5 separate regions of the Homo sapiens genome follow, and all the other regions are linked to region 1. Evidence: promoter capture Hi-C in human tissues and cell types (Jung and others, 2019). All regions are on one chromosome and are shown on one strand. Each heading gives the region's core, a stretch centred on a gene start or on the middle of the fragment in contact. The rest is flanking DNA. Distances are from core to core; before and after follow the strand shown.

Region 1 (2,700 bases), core at 69-2,568:
GTTTTCTCAACACCTGTTGCACATCAAATGATGAAGAGATTGTTACAATTTCCAAAACCCTGGACCAAAACCTTAAATGATCAGCACTTTGTTTCAACTGATACACGGCTTAAGTCAGAAAAATAAGTTCTTCTTACCAAAAACAGTGAGCCTAAATATGCTGGCTGCTTTAGAAATAAAACAGGTGATCAACAAAGCAATCTGTTTCTGTCTAAATAATTTCCCAGCAAAAGTCACTTCTTTTGAAACTATATGATTTGAACCACAGGGTATGCACAGTGATTGTGTGCTTTCAGAAACACGGTAAGCATGACAAATATTTTCAGTTGTCAAGGGTAAGCGAGGAGGGAATGACCCACCTAAGAAATGGAAACTAACAAATAGTAATATGACACTCCCCCTTAGTTCCACAGGCTGGTGCGGCTGCTACACGCAGCTCACTTCCTACGGGCGGCTAAAGGCGGTGCATGAACTGAACGTAGGCGGCCTCTTTATCCCCTCCCCACAACACTGTGGGGTGGCACGTAAAGACCTCAAGGGAAGGGGGCCTGGGCGATACGCTCTCCTGCTGCCATTCATTTGTTCAAGAAATAGTTGAACAAATGAATAGTTAAACAAACTCTCCAACTAGGACTCTGTCCCATTCGGATACCCTACGCCTCTCCCCCCATTTCCATCCCTAGGCATCACTCCCTCGTCAAGAATATGCTGATTATGGCTCGCGCCCCCTCTCTCCCTTGGACCCTCCCGCCAGGGCGACCGGACGAGGCCAGCGGGAGCAACGCCTTCCGAACCGCAAGGAAGGAGGGCTCGGAGTGCGCAGGGCGCGGGTTCGCGGGACCCTCCAGCGCGCGGGGCTGGCCAGCCGGGGCGGGGCCGAGGGCACCGGGCGCCGAGCTCCGGGAGGGGTCCCCGAGGTCGCGCCGGCCGGGAGGGGCAGCGGCGGGAGGCGGCCGACTGCGGCGCACACGTGGGGAGGGCGGAGCGGGGCGGGAGCCGGGCGAGGGGCGGTGACGGTACCTGATGAAGGTGGTCTTGCCGGTGCTGTACTGGCCCACCAGCAGGATCATGGGCTTGTTCTCGAAGTCGGCGTCCTCCAGCGCAGGCGAGTGGAACTCGTGGAAGCGGTACGCCTCCTCCAGCGGCAGCACCTTGCGCAGGTAGAGCGAGCGCAGCCCGCCCGTCACCGTCTGCACCGCGTCCGCGCCGCCAGCGCGTTCGCGCCCGCCCGCCTGCCGCCCCATCCAGCTGAACATCCTGCCGCCAGTCCACGCTCGGATGGGACCCTGCTCCGGGTTCGACTCTCCCCGGCTCGCACTGAGCCGCCCCGGCCGCGCTGGCCGCCGCCCGAGGAGGGCCCCGCCTTGTGCTGCCACAGCCAGTCTTCGGCCGCTACGTCACGCGCGCTCGCCCACTATTCAGACGAGCTCTCTCAGGTCCTTCCTGATTGGATCTCTGCCAGAGAGGGCTGAAGGCGTCAGCCAATTGAGAGGAGGTTCTTAATGAATTATTGATGACGGAGTCATTCTAGAGGACTGGGCGGGGAGATGGTGTCTTCCCGGCCGGGTGGCACTGACCGGTCATGCTCAGGGCCCCCTTCTGGTTGCCGGTGCCTCACCTCTGGCCAGGTGGCATCGGCTTCCGGGTAAATCTGAGCTGCCCAAAGCGAGCCTCCGGAGGCTGCTCCATCTCCTGGAACGTTTACTCATTCAGGCCTCTGGACGTCGATACTGGGGATGAAAAGTTCAGAAAGTGGACAGGCAGGTTCTGTCTTCCCGGGGGCGGGTGGTTATGACTCCGTTTTACAGGCCAAGAGACCCAGGCTCACGGGCATAATTGACACAATCTTGAGGGGAAGTGGACTGGAATCTATTTGAGTAGCCGTTTCTCCTACTTCTCCACATTGCCCTCACTAAATTCTGGATCAGCTAAAGGCTTTTTCCCCTTAGTTTTCTTTATGTGTTTTTCTGTAAAGCCGAAAATTTAGTCATTACTCTCATTATTACATTATCCTCATTATTACAACTTTATTTCCACATATTGACATGTGAGTCATTGTCACCTCCTAGCTGTTTTTTGTTGTTGTTGTTGTTTTCTGAGACGGAGTCTCGCTCTGTCGCCCAGGCTGGAGTGCAGTGGCACGATCTCGGCTCACTGCAACCTCCGCTTCCCGGGTTCAAGCAATTTTCCTGTCTCAGCCTCCTGAGTAGCTGGGACTACAGGCGCTCACCACCATGCCCAGCTAATTTTTGTATTTTTAGTAGAGATGGGGTTTCACCATATTGGTAAGGCTGGTCTTGAACTCCTGACCTCAGATGATCCGCCTGCCTTGGCCTCCCAAAGTATTGGGATTATAGGCGTGAGCCACCGCCCCTGGCCTGTTTCTTTTCTAGGTTAAAAGGATACTCACTTATCTAAGTTGAGATTGGGGGAAATAATCACCTTTTGTGTCCTTGATTGTAGCTTAGGAATATTTCTTAGTTGTTTTAGAGCATTTCTCAAGTGTGATCCATGGGGCCACCTGCATATATGCATTTATGAGCTGGGATGCTTGTTAAAATGCAGATTCCTGGTCTTCAGTCCAGACCTACTGAGTTAAAATATTGAGGAGAGATGGAGCTCAACAGATGCCCTAGGTGACTCTGATGTGGCCTAAGTCTGGGGAAACAGTACACCCTGCAGTACTTCTCCAACCTAACA
Region 2 (2,700 bases), core at 83-2,582, 600 kb after region 1:
CACCATTAAGGAAATAATTGAGAAGAAAGGGTATCTGCCTGAACAGCTTTTCGGTGCATATGCAAGTTCCCTATTCTGGAAAAATAAATGCCACAAAGGACATTTATTAGTAAGGAAGAGAAGCAAGCACCAGGATTTAAGGCAGGAAGGGATACGCTAATATTTTGTGCAAATGCAGTTGGGTTTATGATCAGCACTGCCCTTATCTATATGGCTGCTAACCCTCAAGCCTTGAAGGGAAAAGATAAACACCAGCCACCTGTCTTTTGGTTGTACAAGAAGACCTGGACAATAACCCTTTATCTGAATTGGTTCCATCTATGCTTTGTCCCTGATGTCAGGAAGTACCTTGCCAGTAAGGGACTGCCTTCTATTTTTTTATTTTATTTTTTTTAGACAGGGTTTTGCTCTGTCGCCCAGGCTGAAGTACAGTGGCGCGATCCAGGCTCACTGCAGCCTCCGCCTCCAGGGTTCAAGTAATTCTCCTGCCTCAGCCTCCCGGGTAGCTGGAATTACAGGCGCACGCCAACAGGCCCGGCTAATTTTCGTATTTTGAGTACAGACGGGGTTTCACCAGGTTGGTCAGGCTGAACTCGAACCCCTGACCTCAGGTGATCTCGCTTCAGCCTCCCAAAGTGCTGGGATTACAGACGTGAGCCACTGCACCCGGCCTGCCTCGAAAATTTAACCACAGAATTGACAGTTCAAGCGAACGCAGAGAATAAAAGTATTTAGCAAATTACTTTGCAAACTTTCGGACCAAAAGTTGATTTACTTGACTTTACATAGCACGGACACCTAGTCGAGGAACAAAAACTATTTCTGGGTAAGCGGGGCCAGGAACAACAGACTTAGCACTGAGTCCTCGCGGCCCACTCGGCTCAGGATTGGCTGAAGCTGGGCCGGCACTGCTGGGCCCGGTGCGGCACGCGCATGGGTGGGGGCGTCCCAAGAGGCTGTAGGGCGGAGCGAGGCGGGGCGAGCCCGGGCGTCCTCCCGCCCACCGACTAGCCAAGGCTCGGCGGGCACCACCCAGCTCGGGATGCAGCGCGTGTTTGGGCGGGGGCGACCCGGGAGGCTTCGGATGGAACGAGGCGGAGCGAGCCCTGGCATCCTCCCGCCCACCAGGCTAAGGACTGGCCGAACGTCCACACGGGCCCGCCTGCTCTGGCTGCGGCGCGTGTTTGGGCGGGGGCGAGTCAGGAGGCTTTAAGGAGGATTGAGGGGAGGCGGGGCCGGGAGTTCTCCCGCCCACCGGGCTCAGGATTGGCCGAAGCTAGGCAGGCACCGCCCCGCTCGGGCGGCAGCTCGCGTCCGCGCGGCGGCGTCCCCAGAGGCGCGTGGGGCGGGCGGGGCTGGGTTGGGGCTGTGTCTGGGCTTAGGGCGGGGGCCTGGGATGCTGCCGCTGAGCTGACCCGCTGGACTTGGGTTGTGGCAGACGGATGGCGAACGTGCAGGTCGCCGTGCGGGTCCGGCCGCTCAGCAAGAGGTGAGTCTCCGCGGGAGAGGGCGCCTGAGGCTTCACAGGAGCTGAAAAGAGCGGGAGGTCCGCGTCTCCCCCTGCAGAGATTCTGGCGCGCAGAAATCGGTGACAAAGTGACCCGGGGGGTCGGGGTCCGGAATCCACGGAGGCCTGGCGGGACGGGACCTCAGTCGAGCTTTCGCGTTGTGTCCTGGGGATAGCGGTTCCCGGACGGCCGCGGGAGGGCTGCCCTGGGTGAGCGTCGCTGGCGTCCTGCCAGCAGGAGTTTCGAGGGACGGCGGCTCGAGGCTTGCTGCATCGGGTTGGGCCTTTGAGAAAGGCTGGGAGAGGGATGAGCATTCTCCTCTCTCTTTCTGGGGGCTTGGGAGTACCCATGAGGACTGAGGCTGAATGGTGTGTGTTTCTGGGTGCGCGTGGGCTTCTCTGCGAAGATGTGGAGAAAGCAGAAGGTGAGGGCGTGAGGGGGAAATTGAGGCCGACACAGGTCGCGGTTTCTTTCTATGCTCGACAGCTGATTTAATCCAGGACGGAACTGTTAAGTAGGGGAAGTTGTTCCAACCCCTTCTTTCTCTCAGAGCCCTCAGTGCCCGTTTTCTCGTGGCTTATTTTGATTCCGCACCTCTCATCTCAGCCCTTGAGACATCCAGTGTGCAGCCACGAACTTTTTTCTCTTTGTCACCAGATGAAGTGTTTTTTAAAGATCAATTAGAGTTTGTTGACAGGTGGAGAGAGTTTAAAGAGCCTTCTATGTAGTAAGACCGCCAAGAGCAAAGGACTTAGACTGTAAGGGACTAACTAGAGGTTAAGTTTTGGTGGGGAAAGGGTGGTTGGTGTGGAGGGAAGTGAGTGGTGGAAGGTAAATCTGGCAGAGGGTGCTTTGGGGACCAGGAGGCACATGTTGGAATTATTTGGCAAGTTTAAAAATCTCTGGGACATAAGATAGCTTGATAATTGGGCAGAAGGATCAAGAAAGGTATCGTCTCCCATAATAAAATTGGGTACTAGTGTGGATTATGTTCGTCCTCATATAGAAATGATTGGCTTTGAAAAGTCTTGTAATTGACAGACTAATGAGAAGAGCAATGAGATAGAAAGAAACAAAAAGTTAAAGAGAATAGGAAGAAGGCAAAAGAGGTACACTGAAGAAAGAGGGAAAGCAGATGCCTGACCTGCTGCGTTTTGATTGGTAAATGGCTTGTGACACCTGGCTTCTTCAT
Region 3 (2,700 bases), core at 135-2,634, 630 kb before region 1:
TGCTAGGATTACAGGCATTAGTCACTGTACCTGGCTGAAATTCATAATTTTTGCTGTGGCCTTTACCTCTCTACTTGACCCAGCCTCTGGTCACATCTCTGATCTCCCTGCCCTCCATATACCTCAGTGTTCACCATACTTCTACCATAAGGGCAGTTTCTGTCTTTCAACTCATGAGTCCACCTCAGGGCTCCTGTTCTTGGCGCTCGCTCTGCTCGGAGTGCTCTTCACCTGCTGCCTCTTTCCTCATTCACATCTCGGGAGGCCTTTCCCAGCCATCCTAATTCAGGTAGCATCCCCACCCCACCCCAGTTGCCCAGTTTTATTTTTGCATCATAATACCTGACGTCATATCATTCATTTCTAGCTTTCTTGGGTAACTGTTTCACCTCTGCTAGAAGATCCTGGAGGGCAATCACCTTGTCTGTTTAATTAATCACTCTCTAGTGTCTGGAACAGTGCCCAGCACAATAAATGCTTGTTGAAGGAATGCATGAATATATGCTGATAACTAACATCTGCACCTTCAGCACAACTCTTGAACACCACCTCATATCATTCAACCTCCTCACTGGGTTCTGCCACAGGTGCCTCACTTCATGCATTTTTGTATGTTTGGTGAGATTTTGAAGGTATATTAAGAGAGTATTAGAAAAATCAAGAATGCCTGAATTCTGCCCTGCCAATCATCCCCTTCCCAGAGAAAACCTCAAGGGTGGTTCAAGGAACAAGTAGAAAATAAGGTACCACTTTATTACTAGCTGAAATAGTGCCTGATATCTTGATGCAGAGCATTCTGGTAAAGTGGATTGGAGACTGTGGCTTAGGCTTGCACCACAAGCAAAAGCTTGAGCACAAACCAAATTTCAGGATCTCTGCTATTCTCTACTGGACACATGGCCCATGATAAAAGGCATGAGAAGAATAGAGCCAAGCCTGGTGGCTGGGCCCACCTTGAGAAGGATGGCTGTGGCCCTCAACTGCATGGCTGGGTGGAAGAGGAAGAAAAAAAGAACCCAACCAAAAAACTTGACTTTTGTTTTTTAAACGGAGTCTTGCTCTATCGCCCAGACTAGAGTGCAGTGGCATCATCTCCTCGGCTCACTGCAACCTTCGCCTCCTGGGTTCAAGCAATTCTTCTGCCTCAGCCTCCCAAGTAGCTGGGACTACAGGCACACACCACCATGCCCGGCTAATTTTTGTTTTTTTATTAGAGACGGGGTTTCACCATGTTGGCCAGGCTGGTCTAAAACCCCTGACCTCGTGATCCACCTGCCTCGGCCTCCCAAAGTGCTGGAATTACAGGCATGAGCCACCCCGCTCAACCAAACTTGACTTTTAAAGCACAGGAAAATGTAACCAATCAAATTAACATTGTTCTTTCAGGAAAGAACAAGAAGGGAGGTTTTCCTAGGCTGGGAAGAGAAGCTCAGTGTTCCCTTCCCCCGGCAGAGACCTACAACCATCCCCCTAAGACCCCGTCACCTTTTGCATTCCTCATCTTAGGGACCGTACCACACTTCACCAGCTGTCCAAGCCAGAAACGTTGGCATAACAAAGTTTCCCTCTTCCTCAACTCTCATGTTCACACTGATTTCACTTCCTAAGAAGGTTTTGACTTCATCCATACTGCCTTAGCCCCGCTCCAGTTCAGGCCACAGCATTTCTGGCTCATCCCCATCAAATGCATCTTGCACATTGTGCAGGTAGACTACTCATTCTGAGTAATGCAAAATTGGTCACCCACTGCCTTGCTGCAAACTCTTCAGAGACTGCCCTTTTCTCTGAGAGTAAAGTTCATACTCTTTAAAGGCTTACAAGGCCTGGTAACATCACGGCCCTGCTCACTTTCCCAACATTGTCTCTTACTATCTCCTACAAACAGGTCCATGTTCCAGCCACACTGAACTTAAGTTCTTCAAACTCCACCCTCATTGTTGCCTTGCTGTGCCATTCCTCTACCTCTTTCTCTACCTTCTCTTCATCCTTCAGATCTCAGCAATTAGAGACATCACATCTTTATCTGAGAACTGCCCTGTGCAGATACTTGCTGAAGTCTAACCTAGCAGTCCCAACTTTGATGGCCATGCCTACCTATGTTCTCATGACAGCCTGAGCCTCCTAGCGTGGGCATTTACCCCACTGTATTGCAATTGCCTCTTTCCTTGTCTAACTTTCCCACTCAGATGTGAAATTCCTTAGAGCAGAGACCCATTCTTTCTAAGTAATGGTTCTAGTCCTATGGTCTGACCAGAGTACATTTAATGAATACAAGAACAGCAAAAAATATTCAACGTATCTTCCTTGTTTATTTGACTTTTGGCTCTAATAATAAGGTCTCTCTTGCAGGCAACCAAGTTGTTAAAAGCCTTGAAAGGCTACATTAAACATGAGGCAAGAAAAGGAAATGAGAATCAGGTGAGTAATGTTTTTCATGTTTACCTGTTAGCTAGCAAAATAATCATATTTGGTTAATGGGCAATTAACACACAACTAGTGATGATTTAAGACATGCTGTTGGCCAGGTGTTGTGGCTCACGCCTATACTCCTAGCACTTTGGTAGGCAGTGGCAGGCGGATCACTTGAGTCCAGGAGTTCGAGACCAGCCTGGCCAACATGGTGAAACCCCGTCTCTACTAAAAATACAAAAATTAGCCAGATGTGGTGGCGGGAGCCTGTAATCCCAGCTACTCAGGAGG
Region 4 (2,700 bases), core at 5-2,504, 680 kb after region 1:
TCACGATCCACTACACGCAGGTTGGTAACTCCTTATGTTTGGTGAGATTTCTTCCTCTCCTTGTACCTTTAAACCACTTTCTTGTCTTCCTTCCTATTTCTTTTTTTGTTTGTTGGTTTTTGAGACAGGGTCTCAGTCTGTTGCCCAGACTGGAGTGCAGTGGCGCGATCTCGGCTCACCTGAACCTCTGCCTCCCAGGCTCAAACAATTCTCCTGCCTCAGCCTCCCAAATAGCTGGGATTACAGGAGACGCCACCATGCCCGGCTAATTATTTTTTAATTTTTAGTAAAGACGGGGTTTCACCATGTTGGCCAGACTGGTCTCAAACTCCTGACCTCAGATGATCCACCTGGCTCGGCCTGCCTAAGTGCTGGCATTACAGATGGGAGCCATCGTTCCCGGCCCTGTTTCTTTTCCTTTCCTCCTACTCTCATATTTATAGGTCCTCTGATAGAACCTAATATTGTAAACCGGATTTACACACAATCCGTTAAGCTATACACCTAGAATGGGTAGAAGCATTTTATAAAGACTAATCAAAATATCTTCTGCTTATATTTATTTTTAACATTTTAAAACGCTTTCACATCGGTGTGATCAGTATGGACATTTAAAACAAAAGGTTGAAAAGAAAATAAGCATTAAAATGAAATATTAGAAGATTCACTTCCATTGTGATGGATTGAGGAGGTCAAGTCATATCCCCAAAAAGCAACTATAAAGCTGGACAAAATCCTTTCTGTGGTCTGAAAATAGATTAAAGGAATGTAACAAAGTGAGAAGTACCACACCCAAAATAAAATGATGACTAAAAACTTCCTAAATTTGTTGAAAATCATTTATAGATCTAAGAAGCTCAAAGGACTCCAAGTAAAATAAACACAAAGAGATCCACACCTAGACACATCATAGTTAAACTGTTGAAAGACAAAGAGAAAATCTTAAAAACAGCTAGAGAAAAGTGACTTATACAGTAGAACAATTACGTGATGAATGGCTGACTTCTCATCAGAAGCATTGAACCCTTAGAAGTCAGGGGGCTGAGATAATATAAAAAACTGGCAATAAGAACATTCCCAGATTGGAAAAATAAAAAGTAGAATTTATTGCCAGCAGACTTACCTGACAAGAAAACTAAATGAAATCTTCTAGGCTGAAAGAAAGTGATATTAGAAAGTATCTTAAATCTATAGGAGACAGTGAAATATCTGGGAATGATAAATGTGTGAGTAAATATAAAAAAAACCTACATTCTTTCTCGTTTCTTCTCCTAATGTCAATAAAAGAATAAGATTACATAAAACCACAATTGTAACAATGCATTTTTGTACATTGTCATATATGAAAATAACAGCACAAGGGAAATGAAAGGAGATATATTTAAGTAGAGTTACTATATTTTACAGGAATTAAGTTAGTATTATTTTAAAGTAGATCATAAATAAAGATATGTATTGTAATCTGTAGAGCAAGTACTAAGAAAATAGCTCAAAAATACAATTTTAAAAATCAACATTTCTTCTGCCTCCTCTGGGCAGAAAAAACAACAGAAATTAAAATGGTACATATTAATAAAAATACCTAACAGTTAAAGGCAGTGGAGGAAGAACAGAGGAACAAAGGAGATATGAGACACAGAAAAAAGAAAAATCAGACATGGATGGTTCTGAGCACATCAATAATTATTAAATACATTAAGTGTGAATTGCCTAAGGTACAAATTTTCAGATTGCATAAAAGCAAGACCCAACTACATGCTGTCTATAAGAAACACACCTTAGAATCACAGACACAGGTTGAAAGTAAAAGGATGGAAAAAGATATACCATAATAATAGTAACCATAAGTCCTAGCTAGAGTAATGAGACAAGAGAAAGAAATAAAGGGCATCCAGATCAGTAAAGAGGAAGTCAAACTGTTGCTGTTCGCTGACAACATGATTGTATACCTAGAAAACCCTAAAGACTTATCCAAAGAGCTCCTGGAACTGGTAAATGAATTCAGCGAAGTTTCAAGATACAAAATTAATGTACATGAATCAGTAGCTGTGCTATACACCAGCAGCAGACAAGCTGAGAATCAAATCAAGAACTCAACATTTTTTACAATAGCTGAAAAAAAAAAATACTTAGGCATACACTTAACCAAGGAGGTGAAAGACCTGTACAAGAAGAACTACAAAACACCGCTGAAAGAAATCATATATGACACAAACAAATGGAAACATATCTCATGCTCATGGATGGGTAGAATCAGTATTGTGAAAATGGCCATACTGCCTAAAGCAGTCTACAAATTCAATGCAATCCCCATCAAAATACCACCATCATTCTTCACAGAACTAGAAAAGACAGTCCTAAAATTCATATGGAACCAAAAAAGAGCCCACATAGCCAAAGCAAGACTAAGCAAAAAGAACAAATCTGGGCCAGGCGCAGTGGCTCATGCCTGTAATCCCAGCACTTTGGGAGGCCGAGGCAGGCGGATCACTTGAGGTCAGGAGTTTGAGACCAGCCTGGCCAACATGGTGAAACCCCTCTCTACTAAAAATAGAAAAAATTAGCTGGGCGTGATGGCAGGCACCTGTAATCCCAGCTATTCGGGAGGCTGAGGCAGGAGAATTGCTTGAACCTGGGAGGCAGAGGTTGCAGTGAGCTGAGATCACACCGCTGCACTCCAGCCTGGGCAACAGAGTGAGA
Region 5 (2,700 bases), core at 194-2,693, 940 kb after region 1:
CAGAAACTTCTTCCCTGAACCCACCTCTTGACTGTTAGGTCTGTTAAATGCTCATGTCTGCATCTTCCCTTCATAATACCTGGAACACTTGTAATTCCTTCTCCTGCAAATCTCTGCTTCCACTATTTGTAAGCTCCAAAAGTGAGTAGATTATTTGTCTTGTTGGCTGTTAAATCTCCAACCCCTAGCACAGTAACATGGTAGATGCTTAGCAAGTATTTAATCAAGGAATGAGGCTACTGTTACACAGTAATCCCCCTTATCCATGGTTTCACTTTCTGCAGTTTCAGTTACCCGTGGTCAACCACAGTCCAAAAATATTAAATGGAGAATTCCAGAAATAAACAATTCATACGTTTTAAATTGTATATTGTTTTGAGTATGGTGATGAAATCTCAAGCTGTTCAGCTCTGTTGCACCTAGGACGTGAACCATCCCTTTGTCCAGCATGTATCTGCACCGTCTGTGCTGTTTGTCACTTAGTAGCCATCTTGGTTGTTAGATCACTGTCTCAGTATAGCAGTGCTTGTGTTCAAGTAACTAACTCTTATTTTACTTAATAATGGCCCTAAAACACAAGAGTAGTGATGCTGGCATATTACGATAACTGTTCTATTTTATTAGCTATTGTTATTATTCCCTTACTATGCTTAATTTATAAACTTTATCACAGCCATGTATGTATAGGAAAAGCATAATTATCTATAGGGTAAGGTACTATCTGAGGTTTCAGGCATCCACTGGGGGTCTTGGAATGCATGCCCCTTAGATGGGGATGACTACAGTAGTTTAAAGTTTCACAGAGACCAAAGTAAGGTGGTAGCAATGGAAATAAAATGCAGAGGGCTAGGCATTGTGCCTCATGCCTATAATTCCTGCACTTTGGGAGGCTGAGGTGGGAGGATTGCTTGAATTCAGGAGTTCAAGACCAGCCTGGGCAACATAGTGGGACCCCACCTATACAAAAAATTGTAAAATTAGCCAAGTGTGGTGGCACATGCCCGTAGTCCCAGCTACCCAGGAGGCTAAGGGGGGAGGACTGCCTGATCCCAGGAGGTCAAGGCTGCAGTGAGCTACGATCATGGCACTCCAGCCTGGGCAACAGAGCAAGACCCTGTCTCCAAAAAAAGAAAGAAAGCAGAGGTTTTGTGTGGGTGAGATCCAGGAGAAATAGGGAGCAAAAAGAAAAAAGAAAAAAGAAAAGAGAGAGAGAGAATGTGTGTTTTGATCCTGTATGACTAAATGATAATGCCTTTATTTATAGAATTAAGGAAGTTAAAAAGAGAACTGACTATTATCTTGGATATGTTGAATTTTTTAAGTGCTAGGGAAGTCCAGCAGAAATGAAGTCCTAATCTAGTTTATTATCTACCATATAATTTAGCCTCCAGATGATTTTTCTTAAATCAAATTTCCATGAGAGGCAAGGCTCACATTTTTTTCTTTGGTTATTCATTTTTTCCTATTTTCCTCCCCTCATCTTCGCCTTATTGGTCATTGAAAAATGTTTTTTGTTTTTGTTTTTGATACAGAGTTTCACTCTGTCACCCAGGCTGGAGTGCAGTGGCACAATCTTAGCTCACTGCAACCACCGCCTCCGGGTTCAAGCAATTCTCCTGCCTCAGCCTCCCAAGTAGCTGAGATTACAGGTGCATGCCACCACATCCTGCTAATTTTTCTATTTTTAGTTGGGATGCGGTTTCGCCACGTTGGCCAGACTTGTCTCCAACTCCTGACCTCAAGTGATTCAATTACCTACCTTGGCCTCCCAAAGTGCTAGGATTACACGTGTGAGCCACCACACCCGGCTGAAAAATGGTGATAAAACTTTTAGATATTTTTGAAACTGAAGCACTTGGAGGATCAAGAAATTTAAAAAGACTTTACAAACTTCATCTATAATATATAACGTGGAAAATTCAATGTTGGAAAAATATGAACAAAATATAGTCTTTCAATGATCATATGGCTAGAACAAGATGATGGAAACTGCAACTCCATTTTTTTAAAGGCAACTACTTTGAAACTGCAGAAAGAAAAAGACAAATATAAAAATATTAATTATAAAACCATTTTGGTAAAAACATATATAATGGCAAATATGTTTTCTAATTCAAACATTTTAAAATGCTGATTCTTGTTTTCAATAAAGATGTTAATTCTCTGTTTAAAAAAATAATGATTCTGAAAACATGGTTAAATCTCGATAGCTTACCAAAGGAAGCTAAGAAGCTACTTAGTAACTTCCACTCTTTAGGAGGCACTATTACATCCCAGATTCTTTTCAAAGGACACTTAAGTTTTTCACATTGGGAAGCTTTACCCTAACTGAAGTGAAAGCAAATTCCTATATACAATAAAAAACAGCTATAAACACTCCAAAACACCAAGGATTATAGAGACAAAGGTTAAAAAAAAAATCACAGGAAAAAAAATCCAAAATGTTCACAAAAGTTTGTAAGTACTATATGTTCACTTAAGCATCAAGAATAAAGTCACATGACATTAATGAAAATATACTAAGAAGGCTATTTAAAAATAACCAACTGAAAAGAAGAAACTATCTAGCAAAATTGACATTCATATTATGTTATAATATAATTTCAATCTGTATTATAAACCTATAATCAAGGATCACCAGACTTTAATGAGGCAGTTTTGAGTAGTAATATGTGTTGTCCTTATGCTCAAAATTTAGTT

Evidence for each region. The method cuts DNA at HindIII sites, captures the fragments that hold promoters and counts their contacts. A contact is called where the count stands out against the background at its distance.
Region 2: a contact is called between the fragment with the promoter of STARD9 here and the fragment with the promoter of EHD4 in region 1, in 1 of the 25 tissues and cell types used here (neural progenitor cells).
Region 3: a fragment that was not itself captured here is called in contact with the fragment with the promoter of EHD4 in region 1 in 1 of the 25 tissues and cell types used here (spleen).
Region 4: a contact is called between a fragment that was not itself captured here and the fragment with the promoter of EHD4 in region 1, in 1 of the 25 tissues and cell types used here (dorsolateral prefrontal cortex).
Region 5: a contact is called between a fragment that was not itself captured here and the fragment with the promoter of EHD4 in region 1, in 1 of the 25 tissues and cell types used here (hippocampus).

Annotation. Positions count from the first base shown.
Region 1 is chr15:41,971,239-41,973,938 of GRCh38, forward strand. EHD4 (EH domain containing 4) reads right to left here and starts at 1,319. Exons shown (of 6, transcript NM_139265.4): 1 at 1,021-1,319. The coding sequence starts at 1,256. It overlaps PLA2G4E-AS1 (PLA2G4E antisense RNA 1), which reads left to right and starts at 1,525. Exons shown (of 4, transcript NR_120334.1): 1 at 1,525-1,760; 2 at 2,566-2,700. RefSeq lists silencers at 761-1,030, 1,131-1,200, 1,241-1,370. The HindIII fragment of the contact is 6,706 bases long and covers 1-2,700 here.
Region 2 is chr15:42,574,274-42,576,973 of GRCh38, forward strand. It overlaps STARD9 (StAR related lipid transfer domain containing 9), which reads left to right and starts at 1,333. Exons shown (of 33, transcript NM_020759.3): 1 at 1,333-1,489. The coding sequence starts at 1,443. RefSeq lists a silencer at 841-1,470. The HindIII fragment of the contact is 9,099 bases long and covers 1-2,700 here.
Region 3 is chr15:41,340,037-41,342,736 of GRCh38, forward strand. NUSAP1 (nucleolar and spindle associated protein 1) reads left to right here. Exons shown (of 11, transcript NM_016359.5): 2 at 2,350-2,418. Among named protein-coding and RNA genes, the nearest start is that of NUSAP1, 8.5 kb to the left of the region's middle. The HindIII fragment of the contact is 4,302 bases long and covers 1-2,700 here.
Region 4 is chr15:42,652,573-42,655,272 of GRCh38, forward strand. It overlaps STARD9 (StAR related lipid transfer domain containing 9), which reads left to right. Exons shown (of 33, transcript NM_020759.3): 9 at 1-20. Among named protein-coding and RNA genes, the nearest start is that of STARD9, 78 kb to the left of the region's middle. The HindIII fragment of the contact is 8,421 bases long and covers 1-2,700 here.
Region 5 is chr15:42,914,821-42,917,520 of GRCh38, forward strand. The region is part of intron 1 of TTBK2 (tau tubulin kinase 2); the gene reads right to left. Among named protein-coding and RNA genes, the nearest start is that of TTBK2, 4.6 kb to the right of the region's middle. The HindIII fragment of the contact is 6,776 bases long and covers 1-2,700 here.